2 separate regions of the Homo sapiens genome follow, and region 2 is linked to region 1. Evidence: promoter capture Hi-C in 16 types of primary human blood cells and fetal thymus (Javierre and others, 2016). All regions are on one chromosome and are shown on one strand. The core of a region is centred on a gene start or on the middle of the fragment in contact, and the rest is flanking DNA. Distances in the headings are between cores, read along the strand shown. Region 1 holds the start of EDNRB (endothelin receptor type B). Region 2 has its middle 7.7 kb from the start of EDNRB-AS1.

Region 1 (5,086 bases), core at 1,606-4,105:
TATTTAAGGTTAAACTTCAATTGCATATTACTGATGTCTAGAACACTGTTTCCCCAAAATAAGAAAAAAATTTGCTTAGGCTTTCTGCAATTACAATAATAAAAAGCATAGTCTGTGTAACCATTTAGACATGCATTCAAATCCTAGCTCCAAATCCTGGTCCCACAACTAACTAGCCACATGACCTTAAGTGAATTACTGAGACTCAGTTTCACTGCCTATAACATCATAGAAAATAATACAGAGCTGGAAGACAAACATCAGAGAATCAATGAGGTACTGTGAAAAGGTGTCTAATGCAGGTGGTAGACCCTGTAAGGAGTAGCTGATACTGTGTTTTAAATTCCAAATGAGGAATGTGTATATTTACCTTAAAATTGTTTGGCCTTATTCTTGAGCCCAATGACCAGTTAATAAAGTATAACTGAATACTTTAAAATATCATTATCAATTTATAAAAAATATTTCTTAAGCTCATTTTGTGGCAGGTAGTGGGATGGTGCAGAAAGAACATATAACTCATTCAAGTCCCTGTCCTGTAAAAGAAATTAAGTCACACGAAATCAATAGTGACCCATAGATGTCTCTTATGTGATCAAGTGCTTGCTAAGTTGTGGTTAACAGTCCAAAAGTGCTCCAAGAAAAGTAAAGAGATAGACCTCAGTGAGGATTAGAGCAGACTTCCAGGACTCAGTGGAGGAAATTTGAATGGAGATGGAGATGATGAGAAGGCCAGTGGGGAGAGAGAAAAGTCACCCCACAGGAGCCATAGGCATGAACCCAACAAAGCTTGTATAGGAAGGGCAGATCCAACACTGGGTGGAGTCAACTAAGCAAAATATTCATATTCCAAAGCTTCCATATAATTCCTTATTCAGACAACATTGTATATTGTTACTTGGCTCAGCAATTGAATGTTGACCTCGTTCTTACGAGACAGGGAGGATAAGGACTGCAATTCAAAATAGCCAGATTTGGAATTAGCACTCACAACCCTAGACCATATTTCTCATTCCTTTAGCCTTACTCCGTAACCATGTTCCTAACCACATTTCACACTTAAAGTTCACCTTTTTAAATAGAAATTGATTTTCTACTTCCACTGTCCCAGAAAGCATTGCCTAAGAGCCAAAAATCCAAGGTTCTTGTCCCATCTATTCCATTAACTAACATGAAGCAAAAAACGAGCCTCCTGTCTCTGGGTGAAACTGCTACATGGAATGGGTGCTTCTGGGTTTGAAGTTCCACAGATCCAGTAGGGATTTTGCTGATTGGAGGACGGCACAGTACTCTCCAGTGCATCTCCAAGCCTGACTTCCTGACCTCTTTTATACAATCTCTGGGCAAAACTACCAGTCGCTGTTATTTTCCTCTCTGCGGTAAACATGGAGCTCAAGAATGGATAGAAAGACCTTATTGTATTGCTCTACCTGGTAAATAAATATCATGTTGAATTTGCATGGCAGCTTTCTGATTATTTTCATGTCTCCGATAAGCATCAAGTCTGTCATAGGTACAGTATAAAAATGCCTGAGATTGCCTAACACCGATACTGTGGCAGGAAGAGAGGAGAAGAGCTGTACTGGGGAAAATGAGGAGTACTTGTAATCCTCTCTCGGGGCAGTGAGAGGGCCTGGGAAGAAAAGATCGAGCTGTTCCGTGTTGGGGTTAATGTTGGCTTGAAATGAAACTTCAGGGCAAAATGAAGCAGAGCAAAGAGCAGCGCCCACAAACCAACCTTAAATATCACAGCGGCGGAACATTTACCTGAAAGAAAAGTGACACTTGGCATTAAAAGTTCAATTATCACGTTCAGTGCAGAGCCTTGTTCTAGTCTGGAGCTGCCGGGTGTCACATGGTGCGTGATAACTTGCCCTTGATTTGGGTTCATTTGAAGAGCGTAGAACTCTAACAAATAAACAGCCTTTTGGGACCTGTCCCCGGACGAGGACTGCCCCCCTCCCTCGGGCAACTACTACTGATGCTGTCCAGGCATCGCCCAAGGGGAAAGGTTGCAGCGGGGTCGGAAGGCGCGGGAGGAGTCTGGCGGTGATTGATGGGAAGGGATGAATGAATAAAAGTACTTGTCTGATGGCAGCAGAGACCCCGAGCAAACGGTGGAGGCTACACTGTCTGGCATTCTCGCAGCGTTTCGTCAGAGCCGGACCCGCCTGCAGCTCAAGGGAGGCGTGCTCCTCTCCCAGAGCAGGCTGGAACCCAGCTGGGTTCCGCCTCCCGGGAAGGTGGTCTCCATTCGTCGCTCTGCATCTGGTTTGTCAGATCCGAGAGGTAAACATTCGGGCTTGGTGTTGAATTAAAATCATTGATTGAACCTTATTCTGGGGCTTCGGTTTGGCTTACTAGTTTGGGATTTTAAAAAAATAAAAATTAAGCCTATAGAGAGGGCAAATTAAAATTAGGTTGGGTAAAGGAAGGAGCGCGAGTGTTTGAAGCCGTTTGGAGGGAACAGCGGTTTCCAAGTTCCTGCTGACTTGAGAAGTCTCTGCGGGTTTCCGAATCTCCGGCGCACTCCTGGGCGCGCTGCGGGAGCTGTAGCTCAGCCAGCCAGGGAGTAGCGGCTTTCATCCGCCGGGAGGAGTCTTTCGAGTTCAATCGCGGGGTATAGAGGTTCCCCTGCGGGGCAAAATGCAGAGCTTGACACAAGCCCTTGGCCTCTAGGTGCCTTAATTCCGCGGTTCCCACGCACGCTTAACTAAGACGTGTCTGTATTCCTCCCGTTACGTGAAAGAGTTCGGAGCTTTGCCTGGGACCCCCATCATTCCCTCCCTGGCACACCCCTTCCAGAACGCCCCGCCCCACTGCATATTATTTACCCCTCCTGGCCACGCGGGGGAAGAAAAACAGCTGAGAGGGCATCAGGAAGGAGTTTCGACCCGCGCTGGCGAGTCATGAGCGCCAAGTTTCCCACTGGCGCGCAAACTTGAGTTACTTTTGAGCGTGGATACTGGCGAAGAGGCTGCGGGCGGTATTAGCGTTTGCAGCGACTTGGCTCGGGCAGCTGACCCAAGTGTCCTGTCTTCCTTCCTCTGCTTGTCTCTAGGCTCTGAAACTGCGGAGCGGCCACCGGACGCCTTCTGGAGCAGGTAGCAGCATGCAGCCGCCTCCAAGTCTGTGCGGACGCGCCCTGGTTGCGCTGGTTCTTGCCTGCGGCCTGTCGCGGATCTGGGGAGAGGAGAGAGGCTTCCCGCCTGACAGGGCCACTCCGCTTTTGCAAACCGCAGAGATAATGACGCCACCCACTAAGACCTTATGGCCCAAGGGTTCCAACGCCAGTCTGGCGCGGTCGTTGGCACCTGCGGAGGTGCCTAAAGGAGACAGGACGGCAGGATCTCCGCCACGCACCATCTCCCCTCCCCCGTGCCAAGGACCCATCGAGATCAAGGAGACTTTCAAATACATCAACACGGTTGTGTCCTGCCTTGTGTTCGTGCTGGGGATCATCGGGAACTCCACACTTCTGAGAATTATCTACAAGAACAAGTGCATGCGAAACGGTCCCAATATCTTGATCGCCAGCTTGGCTCTGGGAGACCTGCTGCACATCGTCATTGACATCCCTATCAATGTCTACAAGGTAAAGGGCGCCTGCTGAAATCATGGTGGGCTTGAGGAAGGGGGCCTGGTTGGAGACGGGGAGATGAGAAAGCTTGTAGAGGGAGCTTCCCTTTAGCTCCCTCTTAAGGTTCTGCCCCTCCTAAAAGTCAGTAATCTTTGGAACCAAATTCCATTTGGTTCTGTCCACTCATAAAAGTCAGTAACCATTGGAATAAAATTCCATTCAGGTCTTCAGTAGACCTCTGCTAAGCTTAGGACAAGCGTAGTCCCCAGTCTAGCAATGTTAGTATCACTTTGGGAACTTGGTGCACATGAAGATTTTTCTGGCCTCACCCCAGACCTACTGAATCAGAAACTCTGGAGTGGAGCACAGTAATTTGTATTTTAACAAGCCCTTTATGTGATTATGATGAACTGTAAAGTTTGAGAACCACTAGTCCTGAAGGATCTAGTCCCTAAGTGCACCTAATGGGGTACATCCTCTAGTCAAAAGTGTGTGGTCCATGGACAGTCAGCATCAATATTACCTGAGAGTTTGTTAGGAATGCAAGGCTACCTCAGACTTACTAAGTTAGAATCTGCATCTTAAGATCTTCATGTGATTGATATGCCCACTAACTTTGGGAAGGACTGTTTTGGAAGACTTTGAAAGTAGCAGGTACAAAGTAGGTATTTAGGAAATAAATGGCCTGGAAAAAAGAGATCCAGACTGGTGAGTAGGAAAAACACAGTTCACCTGCTGTGACGGACTGTAGCTACTTTGTATTAAATATCTACAGTGGGCCAAGGACTGGGTGAGATGTGTTACTTCCATTATTCCTTCCAGCAGCCCACAAGTAGATATTACAATTAGTTTACAGATGACTGGTAGGATGATCAAAGTAAATGAATTAGAGGTGGAGCTGGGGATCAGACCCAATCTGTCAGGTTCCAAAGTGCAAGCTATATGATGGCACCCCATCAATTATTTCATGGACAAGACCAAGGAGCACTCAAAATCTGTAAGGGTTTCGGTAGTTAACATTATTGTGTGATTACCATGGGCGTCAGTAGAAACACACAAAGAGCCAGGTTGCTCCAGGTTGCTTTGGAACTCCAGACACATCCCAGCACCTCTGGGCCTCAGTTTCCTCAATTCCACAATAAGGCTGCCAGTGCCCACTTACTGAGGCTTTATGGTGTTAAAAAAAAAAAAGCAGTCTAAATAAAACAGTTGGAAAATTTCAAAGACATATGAAAATATTTAAAACTTTCCCAGCAGCAGCAGCAGCAGCAGCAATAGAAAGTTGCACATAAAAACACAATCACAGTGTAAGGAAATGGAATTGTGCTTTGCAGATTTGCCTATAGCTAGCCCTGACTTCAGTACTTCAGTACAAGGGGAAAAAAATGGAATGTAAAGTTGGGAAATGTTGTAGGGAATGCTTTGACCTATTGGCAGGAGTAGTTACCATAAGGCATGCCTGTAAATTTCCCTTCATAAATCTCTAAAAATCCTAACCCAATAGCT
Region 2 (5,086 bases), core at 1,715-4,214, 110 kb after region 1:
AAATAAATACTACATTTTAGTCTGCTTGATGGTTTATAATTCGGTTCTTTTTGTAAACTATTTCCTTAAAAACAAAAGTCTTGGCACACACCAGAACCATTGTCTCACCTCCTTGTGGAATTTTCTCACAGCGATTGGAAAAGCCCAATCCTGTATGCTGCATCTATGAGGATATTTGCTTTGAATATCTATCAAGCTATTCTGAGACATTGCTCAGGATAAGCTAGGATATGCTCAAGTATACACAAGCAGACCTTGAAATCTTGGTGAGTTAATATACAACCCAATGCAAGTCCAGAGGCTTTCTTGGGCAGCTCCCCTCAAAGCCATGACTCCAGGACTCTTACATTGTTTTTGTTTGTTTGTTTGTTTGTTTTTCATGGATTCTCACTCTGTCGCCCAGGCTGGTTCCCAGGCTGGAGTGCAGTGGCACAATCTCGGCTCACTGCAACCTCTACCTCCTGGGTTCAAGCGATTCTTCTGCCTCAGCCTCCCACGTAGCTGGGACTACAGGTGTGCAGCACCACAGCCAGCTAATTTTTGTATTTTTTTTTATACTAGAGACAGGGTTTTACCATGTTGGTCAGGCTGGTCTCAAACTCCTGACCTCATGATCCGCCTGCCTCGGCCTCCCAAAGTGCTGGGATTACAGGCGTGAGCCACTGCGCCCGGCCGACTCTTACATTCTTAACAAATGGTCTCTGTAGTCAGCACAAGAAGAGGAAATGAGAACATGGAGGATATGGAGGGAGGTTTATGAAAAGGCCCAGAGTGAAGACGTGTCACATGTGATCACCAAGTGACCATAATATAGTCACACGGTCCAGCCTAGCTACCACAAGGGCTGGGAAACAGTCTTCCTACCAGCCCAAGAAGAGGGAATGAGATTGGGAAACATCTAACCATCTGTTGTATATTTTTGGTCCATTTAATTTCCCCTATACATTGTAGCATTATGAAAATCAATTCCTGATTTCTCATTTTATAAGGAGCATTGTGTGAACTTCATGGGGCCACTGAGACTAAAATGACCCAAAGCTCAAGCTTAATAAACATCAGTTATTAATTGGTTCACTCTTTATTCCATGTATAATTTTGTAGGGCTTGGTAACAAGTACCAAAATAACTATAACAGCTTAGTAAAATAAGAAAGTATTCAAATTTTTAATTATAATTGTATTGTATTAATAGTCTCCTTCAATTAATTGTATTAATGGCTACCTTGAAGTTATGTGTAATTAACAAAATGGAAAGCATTCTTTGAGATAATGACACTTCACACAATGTATCTCTTTAGTGTGTCTGTTATACATTTCCTCTTATTATAACTTTGTAACATTCATTGCTTCATGCCAATAGCCAAGCATTTAGAAGTCAGTGTTGCTTGTGTTATCCATACTGGTCAATGAAGTGCACTAAGGCAGTTTGCTTCTTCAGCAAGAAAAAACTTAAAGATTTGGACTACAATTTAATATTAGGTTTGCCTTTTAAGACAAGTGTCAAGGAGCCAACTTCATTTTCTTTTCCTATACTAAGGAAATGAACTTATTCTCCTCAAAAATGACTTGAGGCAAAAGACATTAATGGTTCTTCTATTCTCAGATTAGAAGAAAGTAGAAGACCACATGAGTACCACATGAGATCAACTAGTCATTTCCTGAGACTCTGGTTTGGATTCACAAATAATAAAATGGGAAATAACTGTATTTTTTCATTTATTGGTTATGATAAAGATATTTGCATAATAAGATATTTTATATGTATGTACCATCTACTAGGAGGTTATTTCTTAGTGAAAGATGTGAAGGTTATCATTGTCCTGCATTTCACTCATTGAAAATTGACTGTTTCATTTGCTATATGTTCATTCATTCCATATTTCTGAGATATACATCCTGTTCCTAAACAAAATTGAAAATTTTATATCAGTTCTTAAAGTGTTATATTGATATTCCTTTCAAAAGTTATTAATTCTGATATTTTACTATATAGAATCAATATGTTTACAGTCTATTTTTCATGTGATCCCTTACAGATTTTATAGAGTACTATAATAACAATAATATATAATGTACATATAATTATATAATGCTTTCTAAGTGTTAGAACTACTCTTCTCAACAGCCCTATGGGTTATGTAATTATTCCTGTTTTACAGATAAGGAAATGGAGGAACAAAGCAGTGAAGTAATCTGTCCAAAGCCCAAAAGTTGAATTGTTGAAACTGACATCTGAAAGCAAGTAGCCTGGCTTCAGAGTATATGCTTTTAATCGCTGTGTTATATACTGCCTCTTTATATGTGATAATATAGTATATTTATTAAGTTATTAAAAGAAACATAAGTTTCTTTGTTGCCAATTCAGAGTCCCAAACATAGTTCCAAATGAGCTCGAATTGCCTTTGTGTCAAAAACTACCTATCCTCAACCTGTCTTGCAAACGCTCTAATTTTACAGCTCTTGTTTTCTCCACACTTTAGTTGATTTTGGTGATTAAAGAGAACTGTTCACCTACAACAAAAACAAAAACATTTCTGCCGATAGCAAGAAGTGACAGCTGAAACAGCATTTAAAGTACATCTTGAATAAATGTTCAAAAGCGTAGCCTTAGGGCAATTTCCTGTTTTACTGGAAAATCTACTTTGCTAGTGTCTGATAAAATTGTATGAACAGTAGAAGCTTAATTCTCCAAGGCATGTTCTATGAAGCATCTGACAGCTTATCTGATGAAATCTAGTCTACTACCAGTTCAGAGAGATCACGTGCCCCTCACAGAGGAAGCCCCATTGGAATGGCTCTTGTAGCCTTGGGGCTGATGTTATTAGTTCCTAAATGAAGTGATTAGTGTTTCTTTGACTTATTTTCCAGCAACTGTACATATGCTTGACAAGCCAAAGGTTTTCCATCTTGTACAATCAATCTACTGTTGAAAATGACTTGCTTGTGTGAGGAAATATTATTAGGGCCATTTAATACTTTAAGCCATCCAGGTGATTCAATAAATTTAGACAAAATTAAGTCATTACTTACATGAGATTGAATGAAGTGTTACAATTAAATGTCTCACTTTCTGTAAACTATGGCAGGAATAAGCCACCATTCGTAAATGGAAAGCCAAGGGGACAGCTCAATGCCTCAAGTCTGCCACGAGGTGGTAGAAGAGAGTATGATTTTAAAAAAATGTGTCCTATCTAAAGTATGATCTATGCCAAGTATACTAGCTTATTCTGAGCTTCACTGTCAAAGCTTATGGTGACATATATAACCACTATTGGAGTCTTTGCACTCTAGGTAGTTGCTCAAGTTTCTCTCTCTCTCTCTCTCTCTCTCTCTGTGTGTGTGTGTGTGTGTGTGTGTGTGTGTGTGTGTGTGTGTGTACTTTTTCACATCAAATCCTGATCAGTACTGATCAGCCTGGTTAAAGAAAATATTTATGACCTGATATAAATGTGATCCTTCAAAAAATGATTTGAAATATAGCCTTTGGGCTAAGGCATCCCAGCACCAAGCTAGACAACAAAACAGCATCATTTTGGGGTCCTTGTAGAATTGTTCTTGGTGGTTCTCATAACATTATTTTTAGGGTCCCTATAAGTTTATGTTTTACCCACTCTGGCTTATATGTGCTATAACATTATAAGGGAAAACATGAAAATTTTGATGATATTTACCATATAGATGCTGTAGAGGATATTATTCCTCACATCACACAGTTTCTTCCTTCTGAGAAAAGCCAAGAATACTTCTCTGGGGTCCCAACATTATTCTGCTTTTGAATCTCTGGTTAGTTCTTGTCTTGTGAATACTGTGAACGTTGTAATTATTCTTCCTCTTCCAGACAATGGAATGCCAAAATTGCAGCTCACCCCTAGAAAATGCAACAAAGATTCCCATAGGCATTTTGTATAATCTGATCTCGTGCCTGGCTTCATACAACATTTTTAATCTGATCTACTCTTGGGATGTTTCTACTCTTCCACTTATTCAACCAAGAATGGTATCCATTAAATTTCTATAGAGCATGTCAGGGTATAAATAAATGAATGGCTAAATGTCCTAGGGTTAAGCCTATCTGTCAGTCACACTCCAAGGTGATTCTCATGAAGGCATGACTAAGATGAGGATGAAAATGAAGACACAGATTCTGAGCCTTATGAAGACCTGATAAAGCCAATGACACAAAATTCCTTCATTTACTGGCTCTGCAATGACAAGGAAATTACTTAACTTTCCTGAGTTTTCCCATTTCCACATTTTTAAGTGAGAAAAAATATATTTTTTGTAAATATTAGATGAGATAATTCATTCATTTATCCTACCAGTAGAGTAGCTACTACACTATGTATAACAAACTATTCCACATGCTGAACATAGGACAGAAGACAAGACAGGAAAGGGCCCTACTCCTCTCAATGAACATTCTTATGGGGGGAGACAGAAAATAAACAAGTAACCAATAAACAAACAAGATAATTTCAAACAGTAGTAAATGCTATGAAGGCTGTGATAGATAAATTGGTTGCATGAGTCTTGTTGAGAAGGTAACATTGAGCTAAGACCTAAGTGATGAGTAGCATCAGTTATATGAAGGAGAGGGAAGCGTGGTTTAGGTAAAGGCATTAGCAAATACAATGGTTATGAGATGGAAACACACTTGTTACCATCAAACAACAGAAAGAAGGCCACTGAGGCTGATTATGTTGAGTGGGGACAGAAGGCTTGAGAAAGAGAGAAGATATATATGTCACTTGCTCTGTATTCAGCATATAGTCAGTTGTCATATGTGGTAAATGTCAATTGTTGTGTTGTACTATTTTTAAGTAAAGATTGGAAAAGAGATTGCGTACGGTTATGTTTACCACTCTTAGAAGGGAAAAAAAAAACCTTAAAATTCCTAAGTTCTGCCATGAACCAACATATGAAGCAGAAAGCAAGAAAGTGGGGCAATGTTAACTCCCTAAAGAGGCAGCCAGGATTTGTTCTCTGAGCATGAGCATAAAGCAGGGGCTGTGATCAAAGTACCTAAAGGTGTCATCAATACACCTCCAGAGCCCACTCCAAAGCCCTGATATTCCAAAGAGCCAGAC

Evidence for each region. The method cuts DNA at HindIII sites, captures the fragments that hold promoters and counts their contacts. A CHiCAGO score of 5 or more calls a contact.
Region 2: a fragment that was not itself captured here is called in contact with the fragment with the promoter of EDNRB in region 1 in 1 of 17 cell types (monocytes); the score reaches 5.3 in monocytes.

What each region holds. Positions count from the first base shown.
Region 1 is chr13:77,916,600-77,921,685 of GRCh38, reverse strand. EDNRB (endothelin receptor type B) reads left to right here and starts at 2,855. Exons shown (of 7, transcript NM_001122659.3): 1 at 2,855-3,595. The coding sequence starts at 3,113. RefSeq lists a cis regulatory region at 2,489-2,498 and promoters at 2,750-2,864, 1,854-2,926. The HindIII fragment of the contact is 2,812 bases long and covers 858-3,669 here.
Region 2 is chr13:77,808,698-77,813,783 of GRCh38, reverse strand. No RefSeq gene overlaps it. Among named protein-coding and RNA genes, the nearest start is that of EDNRB-AS1, 7.7 kb to the left of the region's middle. The HindIII fragment of the contact is 567 bases long and covers 2,681-3,247 here.